3 separate regions of the Homo sapiens genome follow, and regions 1 and 2 are each linked to region 3. Evidence: promoter capture Hi-C in human tissues and cell types (Jung and others, 2019). All regions are on one chromosome and are shown on one strand. Each heading gives the region's core, a stretch centred on a gene start or on the middle of the fragment in contact. The rest is flanking DNA. Distances are from core to core; before and after follow the strand shown. Region 1 has its middle 36 kb from the start of LINC01661. Region 2 has its middle 140 kb from the start of LINC01661. Region 3 holds the start of NTNG1 (netrin G1).

What was found. Contacts are between HindIII fragments. The study calls those that stand out against the background at their distance.
Region 1: a fragment that was not itself captured here is called in contact with the fragment with the promoter of NTNG1 in region 3 in 1 of the 25 tissues and cell types used here (mesendoderm cells).
Region 2: a fragment that was not itself captured here is called in contact with the fragment with the promoter of NTNG1 in region 3 in 1 of the 25 tissues and cell types used here (H1 embryonic stem cells).

The regions. Positions count from the first base shown.
Region 1 is chr1:106,851,255-106,856,318 of GRCh38, reverse strand. No RefSeq gene overlaps it. Among named protein-coding and RNA genes, the nearest start is that of LINC01661, 36 kb to the right of the region's middle. The HindIII fragment of the contact is 3,613 bases long and covers 798-4,410 here.
Region 2 is chr1:106,674,853-106,679,638 of GRCh38, reverse strand. No RefSeq gene overlaps it. Among named protein-coding and RNA genes, the nearest start is that of LINC01661, 140 kb to the left of the region's middle. The HindIII fragment of the contact is 5,746 bases long and covers 1-4,382 here.
Region 3 is chr1:107,137,437-107,142,364 of GRCh38, reverse strand. NTNG1 (netrin G1) reads right to left here and starts at 1,326. Exons shown (of 8, transcript NM_001113226.3): 1 at 1,225-1,326. RefSeq lists silencers at 632-911, 932-1,221 and an enhancer at 1,155-1,686. The HindIII fragment of the contact is 9,891 bases long and covers 1-4,928 here.

The sequences.
Region 1 (5,064 bases), core at 1,355-3,854, 290 kb after region 3:
GCTTTTGATTTTAATTATTTTAATTGTGATGTTAAGGTGTTGAGTTTAGATCTTTCCCACTTTCTCTTGTGGGCATTTAGTGCTACAAATTTCCCTGTAAACACACTGGTTTAGCCTTGTCTCAGAGATTCTGGTACATTGTATCTTTGTTCTCATTGGTTTCAAAGAACTTATTTATTTCTGCCTTAATTTCGTTATTTACCCAGTAGTCATTCAGGAGCAGGTTGTTTAGTTTATATGTAGTTGTGCAGTTTTGAGTGAGTTTCTTAATCCCGAGCTCTAATTTGATTGCACTGTGGCCTGAGAGACTGTTTGTTATGAATTCTGTTCTTTTGCATTTGCTGGGGAGTGTTTTACTTCCAATCGTGTGGTCAATTTTAGAATAAGTGTGATGTGGTGCTGAGAAGAATGTATATTCTGTTGATTTGGGGTGGAGAGTTCTGTAGTTGTCTATCAGGTCCACATGGTCCAGAGCTGTGTTCAAGTACTGAATAGCCTTGTTAGTTTTCTGTCTCATTAATCTAATATTGACAGTGGGGTGTTAAAGCCTCCCACTATTATTGTGTGGGAGTCTAAGTCTCTTTGTAGATCTCTAAGAGCTTGCTTTATGAATTTGGGTGCTCCTGCATTGGGTGCATATATATGTAGGTTAGTTAGCTCTTCTTGTTTCATTAATCCCTTTACCATTATGTAATGTTTTTCTTTGTCTTTTTTGATCTTTGTTGGTTTAAAGTCGGTTTTATCAGAGACTAGGATTGCAACTCCTGCTTTTTTTGCTTTCCCCTTGCTTGGTAAATATACCTCCATCCCTTCATTTTGAGCCTATGTGTGTCTTTGCACGTGAGATGTGTCTCCTGAATACAGCACACTGATGAATCTTGACTCTTTATCCAATTTGCCAGTCTGTATCTCTTAATTGGGGCATTTAACCCATTTACATTTAAGATTAGTATTGTTTTGTGTGAATTTGATCCTGTCATTATGATGTTAGCTGGTTATTTTGCCCGTTAGTTGATGCAGTTTCTTCATAGTGTCGATATCTTTACAATTTGGTATATTTTTGCAGTGGCTGGTACCAGTTTTTCCTTTCCATGCTTAGTGCTTCCTTCAGGAGCTCTTGTAAGGGAGGACTGGTGGTGACAAAATCTCTCAGTATTTGCTTGTATGTAAAGGATTTTATTTCTCCTTCACTTATGAACCTCAGTTTGGCTGGATATGAAATTCTGGGCCTATTGGCCCCCACTATCCTCTGGCTTGCAGGGTTTCTGCAGAGAGATCTGCAGAGAGACAGGCTTCCCTTTGTTGGTAACCGGACCTTCTCTCTGGCTGCCCTTAACATTTTTTCCTTCATTTCAACCTTGTTCAATCTGACGATTATGTGTCTTGGGGTTGCTCTTCTCAAGGAGTATCTTTGTGGTGTTCTCTGTATTTCCTGAATTTGAATATTGGCCTGTCTTGCTAGGTTGGGGAATTTCTCCTGGATAATATCCTGAAGAGTGTTTTCCAACTTGGTTCCATTTTCCCTGTTACTTTCAGATACACTAATCAAACGTAGGTTTGGTCTTTTCAAACAATCCCACATATCTTGGAAGTTTTTTTCATTCCTTTTCTTTTTTCTCTAATCTTGTCTTCCTGCTTTATTTCATTAAGTTGATCTTCAATCTCTGATATCCTTTTTTCTTCTTGATTGATTCAGCTATTGATACTTGTGTATGCTTCACTAAGTTCTCGTGCTGTGTTTTTCAGCTCCATCAGGTCATTTATGTTCTTCTCTAAACTGGTTATTCTAGTTAGCAATTCCTCTAACCTTTTTTCAAGGTTATTTGCTTCCTTGCATTGGGTTAGAGCATGCTTTTTTAGCTTGGAGGAGTTTGTTATTACACACCTTCTGAAGCCTACTTCTGTCAATTCGTCAAACTCATTCTCTGTCCAGTTTTGCTCCCTTGCTGATGAGGAGTTGTGATCCTTTGGAGGAGAAGAGCTGTACTGGTTTTTGGAATTTTCAGCCTTTTTGCACTGTTTTTTTCTCATCTTTGTGGATTTATCTACCTTTGGTCTTTGATGTTGGTGACCTTCAGATGAGATTTTTATATGGACATCCTTTTTGTTGATATTGATGCTATTCCTTTCTGTTTGTTAGTTTTCTTTCTAATAGTCAGGCCCCTCTGCTGCAGGTCTGCTGGAGTGTGTTGGAGTTCCACTCCAGACCCTGTTTGCCTGGGTATCACCAGCAGAGGCTGCAGAACAGCAAATATTGCTGCCTGTTCCTTACTAAGGAAGCTTCATCCCAGAGGGGAATCTGCCAGATGACAGCCAGAGCTCTCCTGTATGAGGTGTCTGTTGACCCCTGCTGGGAGGTGTCTCCCAGTCAGGAGGCACGGGGGTCAGGGACCCACTTGAGGAGGCAGTCTGTCCCTTAGCAGAGCTGGAGCACTGTGCTGGGAGATCTGCTGCTCTCTTCAGAGCTGGCAGGCAGCAATGTTTAGGTCTGCTGAAGCTGCACCCACAGCTGCCCCTTCTCCCAGGTTTCTGTACAGGGAAATGGGAGTTTTATTTATTATCACCTGACTGGGGCTGCTGCCTTTCTTCCAGAGATGTCCTTCTCAAAGAGGAGGAATCTAGAGAGGCAGTCTGGCTACAGGGGCTTTGAGGTGTTGTGGTGGGCTCTGCCCAGTCTGAACTTCCCAGTGGCTTTGTTTACACTGTGAGGGGAAAACTGCCTACTCAAGCCTCAATAATGGCAGACACCCCTCCCCCAACCTAGCTTGAGCATCCCAGATGGACTTCAGACTGCTGTGCTGGCAGTGAGAATTTCAAGCCAGTGGATCTTAGCTTGCTGGGCTCCATGGGGGTGGGATCTGCTAAGCTAGACTACTTGGCTCCCTGGCTTCAGTCCCCTTTCCAGGGGAGTGAATGATTCTGTCTCGCTGGCATTCCAGGTGCCACTGGGGTACGAAAAAAAACTCCTGCAGCTAGCTCAGTGTCTGCTCAAATGGCCGCCCAGTTTTGTGTTTGAAACCCAGGGCCCTAGTGGTGTAGGCACCGGAGGGAATCTTCTGGTCTGTGGGTTGCAAAGACTGTGGGAAAAATGTAGTATCTGGGCTGGAATACACCATTCCTTGGGGCACAGTCCCTCACAGCTTCCTTTGGTTAGGAGAGGGAGTTCCCCAACCCTTTGTGCTTCCTGGGTGAGGCGATGCCTTACCCTATTTCTGCTTGCCCTCCATGGGCTGCACCCACTGTCTAACCAGTCCCAATGAGATGAGCCAAGTACCTCAGTTGGAAATGCAGAAATCACCCGCCTTCTGCATTGATCTCCTTGGGAGCTGCAGAAAGGAGCTGGTCCTATTTGGCCATCTTGCCCAGGTCTCTTCCTTGCCCATTTTCATTGTTTCATTCTTTAGTCTTTTTGTAAATTCTGTAAATGATTGATATTCTGTCAATAAGTTGCTTTCCTATTTAAATTTCAGGACCCATTTCTCTTATTACAGCCCAGAATGCTGACTGATACAAAGGTTATTTGTATTTTTAATATATATTGACATTATTTACCACAGGGAAAAATTATTTTTCTTTTATTCTGTTCTGTGTCCATTCTCACCAGAAAGGTCTTTAGCTCTCCTTTGGTTTTAATTTTGCCAGTCTGGTAATTACCAGAAATGTCTTAATGATATTAGCTTATATTTCCTTGCCTACTGATGAGGTTATATGTCTACTGACTGTATATTAATTACATTTGGATTTGTTCTCCAGTTATTTATGTGTTCGTATTATTTGATTATTTCTCTATTAAGTGGTTTGACTTTTTCTTATGAATTTGGAAAAAGTTCTTTTTGTACTATGGTTAGCAATTTTTTTTTCTGTTAAATATGTTGAAAATATTTTTTAATCTATTTTTTACTGTTTTGTGGTATTATTTTCCATACAAAAAATGTTTAATTTCTACATAGTTAAATATAGCTATCTTATCTTTTAAAACTTCTGGATTTTTCATTTTGTTTAAGAAGTTTTCCCTATCCAAAGTTATATTTGCATATCTATCTTTCTTTATGTATTTCATTTTACATTTAGTTTCTTAACACATTTGGATTTATTTTTGTATCTCTTCATGTATGAGGTACCAGTTCAGCTTTATGTATTGCCAGATGGATGGCCAGTTGTTCCAACATTCTTTATTAAATAAATTATATATTTGCTGATTAATTAAAACCACCTTTGTCAAATAGTGGATCTCCACTTATGCTGTGTTATATTTCTAAACTACTAGTTTTGTTCCATTGATCTATTTTTTCTTCCTATGACAATACAATTGAATTGCAGAAAATATATAATAATTTTTAATATCAGGTGGAATGAATATTCTTCCATTACCTGTTTCTTTATGAGTTCCTATAATTCTGATATACTAACTTTAAGATACTTTATCCATATCCCTTTAAAAAATCTGTGGTGTTGGAACTAAAAAATATATATTAATTTTTGGGGAAACTTACATTTTAATGATACTAAGTTTTCCCATCTAAGAATATAGTATAGATCTTCATTTGCTTGTTTTGGTTTTGTGCCCCTTAATAATAAGATTTCATGTTGTTCTTCACTTAGATCTTGAATTTTCTTGTTAAATTAACACCTTAGTATCTGATAGTTTTTGTTGTTATTGTAAATGTATAATTTCATACCATTTCAATTTCAAGCCACATTGCTAGTATAAAAAAGCCATTGATTTCTGTATTATATCTTGCATTTGTCCTCCTTACCAATCTGCTTAATCTTACTGTTCTCTTACTGAAGAATTTTGTTTCTGCTTTTTGTTCCTTTTTGTTGTATGTTTGAGGGGCTTGAAATGGGCATTAGGATTGCTATAAAAGAAATTCCTAGAGAAATAAAAATTCAATATTATGTTATAGCAGGTTAAACAGTATTTTAAAAGTAAAAAGTTGGTTTGTTTTATTTTTCTATTTGTTTTTTAATCCTTTACCTCCTATTTGAAATATAAAGCACTGGGCTTTTGGATCACATCATAGAATTTATTCCATAATGAAAGGAAGCTACCTCAGGATGTAA
Region 2 (4,786 bases), core at 260-2,759, 460 kb after region 3:
CACAAGGTAGGAAATCCAAAGTTATGCTTTGTGAGGCTACAAGATGCCTTGATACTATATTATCAAATAACAAGTAATTAAAATTATGAATAACTTATTCTTTTCTGCAACCATTTTTCCCATGTATTATCTATGTGTCTACATTAGCAGAAACCTCACAACTTCCCAATCTGGTAGCAACTGTTGCCATCATGTCACATAATAATTACTTTTCATAGTTTCAGGTAAAGTCTTGCTCTGTTGGCCAGGCTGGAATGCAGTGGCATAATCATAACTCACTGTAGCCTCAAACTCCTAGGCTCAAGCAATCCTCCCACCTCAGCCTCCCAAGTAGCTGGGGCAACAAGGGCATGCCATCATGCCCTGAAAATTTTTTTAACAAATTTTGTAGAGATGGGGTCTTGTCATGTTGCCCAAGCTGGTCTTGAATTCTTGGGCTCAAGGGATCCTCCTGCATTGCCTCCCAAAGTGCTGGGATTATAGGCATAAGCCACTGCCCTTGGCTAATTGTTATTTCAATAAGGTAAATATATAATGTCTTCACCTTGAAAAGCATAATGATTATCCTTTTATGTATGTATATATACACAGATGTATGTGTCTATCTTTGAATGTTTGTGATAATTTCACATGCATTATGTTATTTATTCTTTACAATACTATCTTGAGGTGGATAGTGCAATTTTTATTATCTCTATTTTATAGATGACACTCATCTATAAAGTATGTTTACTATTTAGCATGTGTCAACAGCCAGTAAGTAATAGAGTAGGCATATCTGACTCACCACATAGAGTCTCAATTTATGAGGAGTTTCTTCTCAATTTTGGAGTGTCTGGGAAAGGCTCAGTCTCAAAGCCTAAAATAATCTGTACTGTAAACCCCATGAGAGCAAGGCCCACATTTATTTCCTTCACGACTGTGCTTTTCATCACTGGGCTTGACAGAGAATAGGTACTTAAGAATTATTTGTTAAATCAGTGAATGAATCTATACTTGGAATTCTTTTCATTGCCTTCCAAGCTTTTTTATATTTGCAAATGGCACACAGAAAAGAGGTGTGATCCTCTATGGCACCTGACATGGAATAGGATAGTAGAAAGAGACAGGCTGAGTTCAATTCCGGCTCCGTTATTTATTAGCTGTGCACTCTTGGACCATTATTTAAATTCTAAATCTCAGTTCTATCATCTGGAAGTTCCATCATCTGGCTAGAACATAAATACAATATTACTCTCTTCATAGGGTTTTTCTTATGGGAAGTAAATGAGATAATGTATAAAATGCATTGACACAGGTCTAGCATTTAGTAGATGCTAGATAAATATTACTAGTTATCTTCCCACTGTGAAGGAGAAGTGTTAATTCATATCCATTTAGGTCAGCAAGAGATTCAATCATTAAATTTTTTTTCTAAACAGTTATTACATATTTATAATTCCAGGCTGCTTGATTTATATGTGCCCTGTTAGCTGCTTCTAAGCAGTTTCCAGCTTTCGCATACCCCTGGAGTTTATCTTATTCTGCTTTATAGGTTGAAAATAAATTTTGAAAATCATACCAATATAACTCAACAATCTTTTACGCTGATGGATTTAGTTGTGAGTTTTAGCTAGGAAAACTAACAACAAGAGTAAAATGTTTTGTAAATCCATACCTGATTGGAGAGAGGATATTAGAAGTTAAGCTCTTGGTTTTAATATATCTAGGCATTAAGCTACCTTTGTACTTTGCTTGGTATGCTAATCCACACAGAAAGCATTACAGAAATTTCGATTTCACGAAGCCCTCTCAAGTGATTCTTTTAACTGTGTGAGTGCTGAAATGTGCAGCTTTCCATCCATTCTATCTACTTAAGGATTCAGAAAACAACATTAGTTTTGCTTTTAAACAAAAATCATTTTAGGCAGGAGCCTTGTTTAGGGAATTAGAAAAGATAATGATACCTTTTTTGATTCCTTGTGTTGCTCTATTAATTAAATTAGTTCATTTTGTTTCTTTCCTTCTTTGTTATTTTTAAAAATAAGTTAAAAATATGTTCTTGTCTACTTCTGCAACTGAAATTGCTGCTTGTTAACTTTTGGGGGCTCTTTCTTTTCTGGTGAAATATATGTGGATTTCTGAAGCAATATAAAAATCTATATAAACGGTTTCTGTAGAGTCTTTTGCAATCAGGCTATGGTTTGAATAGTGGCTCTGATTTTTTAACTAGATTCCTTTAACTATTGTATTTCCCTTTGGTCAAAAGCAGTGATTAATATCCACCTAACCAGTTTGTTGTGTAGGTAGAGTAATATATGTACATTTCTCTGTATGGAGCAGAAGCTCGATAAATATTAATCTCCTCTTCTCTCAAGTATTCTTTCACCATCTATACGCTGTTGATAATTTTATGTTTGGTAATAATAACATGTTGCATTTATGTACCATTTTTGAATTTTGCCAAGTACTCTTCTGTGCTGTCTTTTAACCTCACATCAAATCTGGGAGGTGGATAGCACAGTGATTATCATTTCTGTTTGGGAGACTAAAAAACTTAATGTAAACTTCTTAGCTGTAGGGGACTTTTGCTCTTTTTTCAGTATCTCAGGCTGAGCCTAACACAGAGCTTGGCATGCATTAGGGGCCATATATATACCTGTACTGAACTAATGATAGCAAGAACAGTAATTTGCCCAAGGTCACACAGAGAGATGTAATGTCAAGACCAGGATAGGGCTACTCTGACTTTCAGAGTCTAATGGAAATTAGACAAGGGGTGAGCATATATATATTTCCCAAAACAGTCAACTCGGGGAAAATAAAAATGTTGACGTGCTGCAATTTAAATGAAAGTAGCTTTGTTGAGTCTTGAGGAAAAAAAGTACTGCGTCTACTTAGATTACTTACTTCTGCAATAGAAAAGTGCCAATGGGAAATATTAGCAGTCTTTTTTTCACCACTAAAATGTTAATATCTGGGCATATTTGAGAAGGAATCATCCAGAGGCAGCTTTCCAACATTTTATCCCTTATATTTGCAGAGCACTTTAGGGTTCACAGAGTGCTTTCACAGGCGTAATCTAATCACATTTTGAAACAATCCCAGAGAGAGGTTTCATTACCAACCACCCTTTGTAAGGGACATACTAAAGTTGGAGACGGAAAATGACTTGCCTATGGTCGCACAGCAAGTGTGCAATGAACAAGGCTATGTGCATTGCTTCCTATACTGTATATAAGAAGCACGTGCCCTCTTGGCATTGTTCTTGGTACTGGGGGTAGATATAAGATAGGTCCCCCCCACTTAAAACTGAAGAAATCTGACTTTATCTCTTACACTCTCCCAATTTATGCTTACGTGCTTTTTTTTTTTTTAATCCACTGATTACAGTACAGCTTGGGAATGGGCCAGTCCTAAAAGGATATTGCACAATATCCTGAGGTTTTCTGCCCTAAATGCTCTGCTTTGAATGACATGGAAGTCTACAGTGAGAATTACACCTCACAAAGTAAAGCTGGGTGGTCTTCATGCTGCCTTACATGACTTACTTGTGTAATCCATTCTACTAAGTCAGGTTTTGTTCTGGTCTGTAGAACACTGGCAATTCAGCAGAGTCTTTACTTGAAAATCTAAAAATTAAAGTTGCGATATTGTTAAAATTGTAAAGCTGTGCACAGATATAATAATGCTTTGGAAATTTTTCACTAACTGTGCATTTAGTAATCTTCCTTTCCCACATTTATCCATGCAGCATTTTCATACACTCATTCTTTGCTTTAGTTTGCTTGCAACCTTGGAGATTGCAGTAAAACAAGTTTATTTAACCTGATTGCCCAATGGTGGCAAATGAATACACATCCCCACACCTCCAGCTCTCTTTAGGGAGTTCTCCAAGCTTCTTTAGAGAGTGGAGGAAATCTGTGGATATGTGCTAGGAATAAGGTACATATTTGCATAAAGTGCCAAAGCTGGGAAGTATGAGGAGGGAGTGAGAATGGCACAAGAGGTCTGGCTTTCTGACGATGTAACTGTCTCTCTGTGTACAGTCTCACCCACTGGTCTCCTTCTGTAACTCTCTTCTAAGATTTCTCATTTGTCACAGCTACATGAGGTAGGAATTAATTTTGAAGGTTTTAAATTTAAAAAGAAACTTTTTTTAAACTTACTTCTGCTTCCTCCCTCATCTATATTTTATAGTTTACCTTTGTTGTAAGTGACATTTTTGTACCAAATTCTTTTGAAATTGTAGGGTTGTCTACGATTGAAATGTTCATAATATCTTTTGCAGGGAGAAAGAATACTTAAGAAAAGTTCTGTTGGCCTCAAACAACATGCTACTTTTGAAGAAATCCAGACATGCTTTATATTTGATTTTCTGCTTTCTGACCCAATAGAAGTAATGATTGACTTCTTTTAGACATGGCTGTGTTTGCTAGCTGATTGATGAAGTCCATATTTAGTGGACTTGCTAGGTTCTTCTGCCTATTCTTTCAGTAATGCTGCTGAAAGTGAAATTAGACCCTCCAGAGCAGGTGCTATTTCAGTGGGTGGGTGGATAGATTTAGTCTGTGGTATGGAGGTCACCTTAGACTTGAATACAAATAATTTTTTCTTCTCATATTTTCTTACATCTGCATTTATAAACTATTGCTATACTCCTTTTATCAAAAAATATAAATGTAAAGATAATAAGGGTTCGTTTAATTGGAAATCTTCTCAACCTGAAATTTGCAAATATTTTATCACTTTTGTGTTGTTTGCAACTTTCCATATTTCCAACATGCTAATGACTATATAAATAACA
Region 3 (4,928 bases), core at 77-2,576:
TGCCCTGTAAGATGACAGCCTACTCTTAAGTGGATTTCTGAAGGAAAAAAAAAAAAAGTCCCCGGGTGAGGGTACTAAAATTAACAGCAGAGGGCGCAGTTTCTTTTTATATCTAAGTTTTTCCTTGTATGAATCACTTAATTGGTTATTTTAGGCCCAATAATATTCAGTATTATTTGTATTATATATAGATATCCACAGATCCATACAGGAGTGCAATTCAGTGTCCCTAGCCGAATCCATCAACCGATTAATATGATGCCAGTAAAGAATATGAGAGAATATTCCAAACAGCATCCCTACACCAAGTCTTCCTCTTTCAATTTCCCTTTCTCCCCAGCTGCACAACATGGGATAGTAATGTTTTAATCTAGCACCAATAAAGGCGATTAAAAGAAGGGACTTCAAAAGCTCTCGATGTGGCCACCAGATCCCCAAGGCCGGCAATAGGGCAAGTGTTTTTTTGTTTTTTTTGTTTGCTTTTCCCCAAACAAATATAATTGGCGAAAGAAAGAAAAAATAACGACAAGCCGCCTGAGCGATGTGTGTGGCCAGGTGTGCGTGAGAGAGGGAGAGCGCGGGGCCCCTGTCAGTCGGCGGATGGAGGCTCAGACCCCACGCCTGGGCTCCGGACACAACAAGAGGACGCATCACCGGCCCGGGGCGCACCCCCGGGAAGACTTGTGTGTGGGTGTGAGCGTGTGCCGCTGTGTGTGCGCGTAGGGCTCCGCGCGCTGCCTCCTCGGGGCGCTTTACAAAGTTCCTCGCCCACCCGGAGCCTTCCCTCCCGCCTGTGCATCGCAGCGGGTGGGGCGGGGGGCGGCGGGGGGTGGGGAAACCCGGGGGAGAGGGGCACGGGCGAGAGGCTCGGGTCGCAGTAGGAGAGGCGAGCCGCAGGCACTTACCGTGTGGCTCGTTTGCCCTTGCGCCGGGCGGGAGCCGAGCCGACGGCGCGGGGCGGCGGCCCTGCGCAGCCAGCCTGGTCCGCCTCGGGCGGCGGCCGCAGCAGCGGAGCCCGCGGGCGGCGTACGGGCGGAGGGCGGCAGCTCCCGCGGAGCCTCCTCCCCAGGCGGGAGCGGGCGGAGCGGGAGGGGTGGGCGTGAGGACCCGAGCCGCCGCCACCGCCGCAGCCCGGGGATTCCGATCGCGCCCGGCCGCCGGCGGGAGAGGACCCCGAGGACCGAGAACCCAGCGCCGGCCCGCCACTCCCCGCCGCTTAATTACCTTCGCCTCCGCCCCCGGGGGGAGCCTCCTGCAAGTCGCCCCCTCTCGGAGCCCGCACCCAGAGGGGGAATTCCTTCCCGTTGACGTCCTCTTCCGAAATGCAAAAGATCAGTGACTTTGACAGGTAGATGAGGGGGAGGGAGTAAGGGTGGGCGGAGAGGAAGAGAGGATGAGAAAGGTGCCTCTCCCTCCAAAAATATAGTGATATTAATAATGAGATCTCAGCCTTCGGAGGTCGTGCCAGCCCAGTCCCCTGCTCGCCGGCTCTCCTCCGCGCCTCCTCGCTCCGCTGCCTCTGACACTTCTCGCCTTAAACTTTTACTGAGGGATATTTTTTCTTTTTTCTATTTCTATTTCTTTTTTTTTTCCTCTTTTTTTTTTTTTCAAGCCGCAGGACGATTTTCTGGTTCCCGGGGATCAGAACCAGCGGCCAGGCGGTTCTATGCCGCTTGGCACCGCTTTCATTTTATTTCAGATGAAGACGTTGAGCTTAGTCAGAAGGGGCATAAATCAGGACAATTAGCATTGGCGCCAAGAAGATCCTCTAATACCAATTTCGCCCGGGTTTCCTTCGCGCATTCCTCCACTCAAGTCAGAAATGTCACTGCACATAGCACTGATGGCAGTGAGACGCGACGCACCCAAAGTCCGTTTGATGAAATATACATGGCCCACGACGCTTCTGGATTGCGGCTCCCGGACTCCCCGCCCCCACCAGCGGCTCCCGGCCGGGACCCTGCTCCGAGCGGGCAGCGAGCTCCTGGCAAACTTAGGGGCCAGTGCCAATTAAAGAGTGAGCGCGAGAGCCGGAAAGAGGAGCGGCAAAGAAGCAAGCCCGGGGAAGCCGCAGCCCTCGGAGGGGTGGCATGTACGTTTCACTTAAAAAGCAGATCTTCTTCTGCAACTGCCAGCAAGTGGAAGGATAGCAAACCTTATACTACCTCGAGACCTGTGCGCTCCGAGCGGTCCTAACTCCGTCCCGCTCGCTGTTGCTGTTGCTGGTGCTGCTCCGGCTGCAGCTGCTGCCGCTCCACGACCTCGGGGCGCTGAGGCAACAGGGCCCCCTCCCTCTACTCCCCATCCCCCCCGGCTCCTCCACAGAAGCGCCGTTTCCAGTAACTCCTCGTGTACCTCCCACTTCTGCCGCCGTCCATCCCACCCCTCTCTCTTCTGTCCCCTCCCCAAACCGTTCCCAAGCACACCCTTCGCCGCTGGAAGTGATCACAATGTTGTTTTTCAACAAGCACTTCCTTTGCCCGGAGGCCCCTACAGCCCTAGACTGGAAACTCCTCCTTTAGAAATTCATTCCCCTTTAAAAAGTTGAAGTTCAAGGGAGAGCTGCGCATTTCAGGCTTCCTTGCCTTTTCTAAGAGAAAGACAAATGCTCCGATGCTCCAGGCTTCATTCCCCACCAAGGCGGGCTCAGACTCACCTGGGATCACTCTTAGCTACACATTAACGTCAAACAGAAACAAATCCGAATTTAGATAAGATAGGGAGACTTCCATTAGAAAGAAAGACTATTGCAACAGGGAAAACGCTCTGATCTCAGAAATCTGCAAACCTCTCAAAACCAAACAGAAATCGGCCTTTTTTTTCTATATATATAAGGGGGAGCAAGCAATAGGCAAAGCCAAGTGGATGGGGGAAACAACTCACTTCAAGACCCTCTTGGTTGAACAAGAAATGTGTCTCTGTGGTCCAAGAATTTGGAAGATAAGCTAACAATGGTGAATGTTTCACATTTTAGTTCTTGCTCAGATTTGGGGGGCAAGCTAAATTCCAGGGACCTGCTGGAGAGAAGCCTGACTCATGTTTGGTCAAGGCAAAGTGGCGGGTGGGGGGGGGGTGGAAGAAATGGGCAATTGTGAACACTTAGTCACTATGTGTCCCACAATTAAGGCAGGAGGCTGAGTAATTGGGTCATTTTTCTGTGATGACTGGGGGTGGTGTGGTAAAAGGATGGATGGGGGAGAAGTTTGTTGAGTTGGGCCTATAACCAGGCCCTCCTTGGCCCTGGGCAGCCAGGAAGTGGGCAGGGATTTCAGGCACCCCCAGCCTTCCCTCTAACACCTAAGAGGCCACAATAAGTCGCCTTCGGAATCTCTGAGTGCAGGAATCTGGGATTCATGTGCTTTCCTCTTTCCCACCTTTGTCCTGTAGTGCTGACATTGCAAAAAAGAGTTACCTGCAGGGCTGAAACTCCTACCAAGGGTTCTTAGACAGTGGCCAAGTCTGGCTCTTCCCCCTGTCTCTAGCCATGCTCCTCCAGGTTTAAAACATACTGACTATATGGAGATGTTACTCACCACCTAATCCTCCTTCACAGGCCCTTAGATCCCAGTTCTTTCTATGGGAGCCCTTTGCAATAGGATATAATAAACAATACCAAGAGTGGCCTTCTTATTTCTCGTTGGCCCCTTGGCCTAGATCCTGAAATACAGACAGTTCTCAGCCTTTCCTCTCTCTTGCCCTTCTCTCTCAAGCCAAGAAAGCCTTTCTGAACTCTCATCCTCTGCTTTATCTGGTCATTTAAGGCCCTTCTGTAGTAAAAATAAAATAAATCTATGCAGAGATTAGAGAACTCTCTTCTGGAATATACCAAGATCTTTGTGATTTTGGCTCCCAACCTGGAAAAATACTTGTTTTCATCTGTCAAAATCTTGGAACTGACCTCCCTTCCTCTCTTCCTGTATCATCCCTCATTCCCAGGATTCCTTTGACTATGAGGCAATCCCAAGTAAGTGTGATATGTAAATGGGAACCTCTCCAGTTAGGTAACACCTCCCACTACAGGAGTGGGAGAGTCTTTCAGAGGTGAGTTTTTCTGTGGAACATGTGCTCTGACCTTTGCAGAAGCTCAGTGAATCACCAACTAAACATGTGGATCTAAACTCAAGGAAGTAAATCAGAATCATCAGAGACTTTTCAACATTAAAACCCCTTCCCTTCCAGATCTTGTTCTCTCCTCCAGCAGCAATCAGGTGGTAAGGACTTTTTCTCCAAAAAAGCAGTTTAAGTGGATTTGATATACTTCCCCAAACTAACGTGCATATATTAAACCAGCTTTCCTCAATATACCTTTGCATATTTGTTTATATGATATACACTGATCAGAAATTGACTTTAGAGTTTTCATTGCCTCCAAGATAAATCATTTAGGGGATACCTACCTTTTCTTATCATTCTTTGCTTTTTCTAGCCATATATATATTTAACTTTCTTTGGAAAAAACTATTTTTCCGTTTTTATTTAACCTTTCAACTCTACTTTTTTTTTTTTTCTTTTTCCTTTTGGAGAAGAATGGTTTGATCTTTCAGTTCTCTGGCTTTAGATCTTTGGCTGGTTTCTACACATTCCTCATTCTTCTTCAACTTAGATATCCATTTATTTGTAATCTTGTTAGGTCTCTAACTGTTGTTCATTTTTCTAGGTTCTTAGCTGCCTAAAAATCTTCTCTTTAGAGATTTGGCAGGGTTGTTTCAATATTTGTAACTTCAATATGCCGAAGTGGTAGTGATGGCATATTTGCAATATATCTGGTCCAAAAAGAAATGTGTCTTTTTTATAAATACTGTAAAATACTTGACATAAAGTAGGTGTAAGATAAATGTTCAGTGCAGGTGTGAATAGCTTTAGCTTATTCTCAAGATTCATGGCCTCTTTGGTAACAGGAGCTAACTCTCACCATATTAAATTAATAT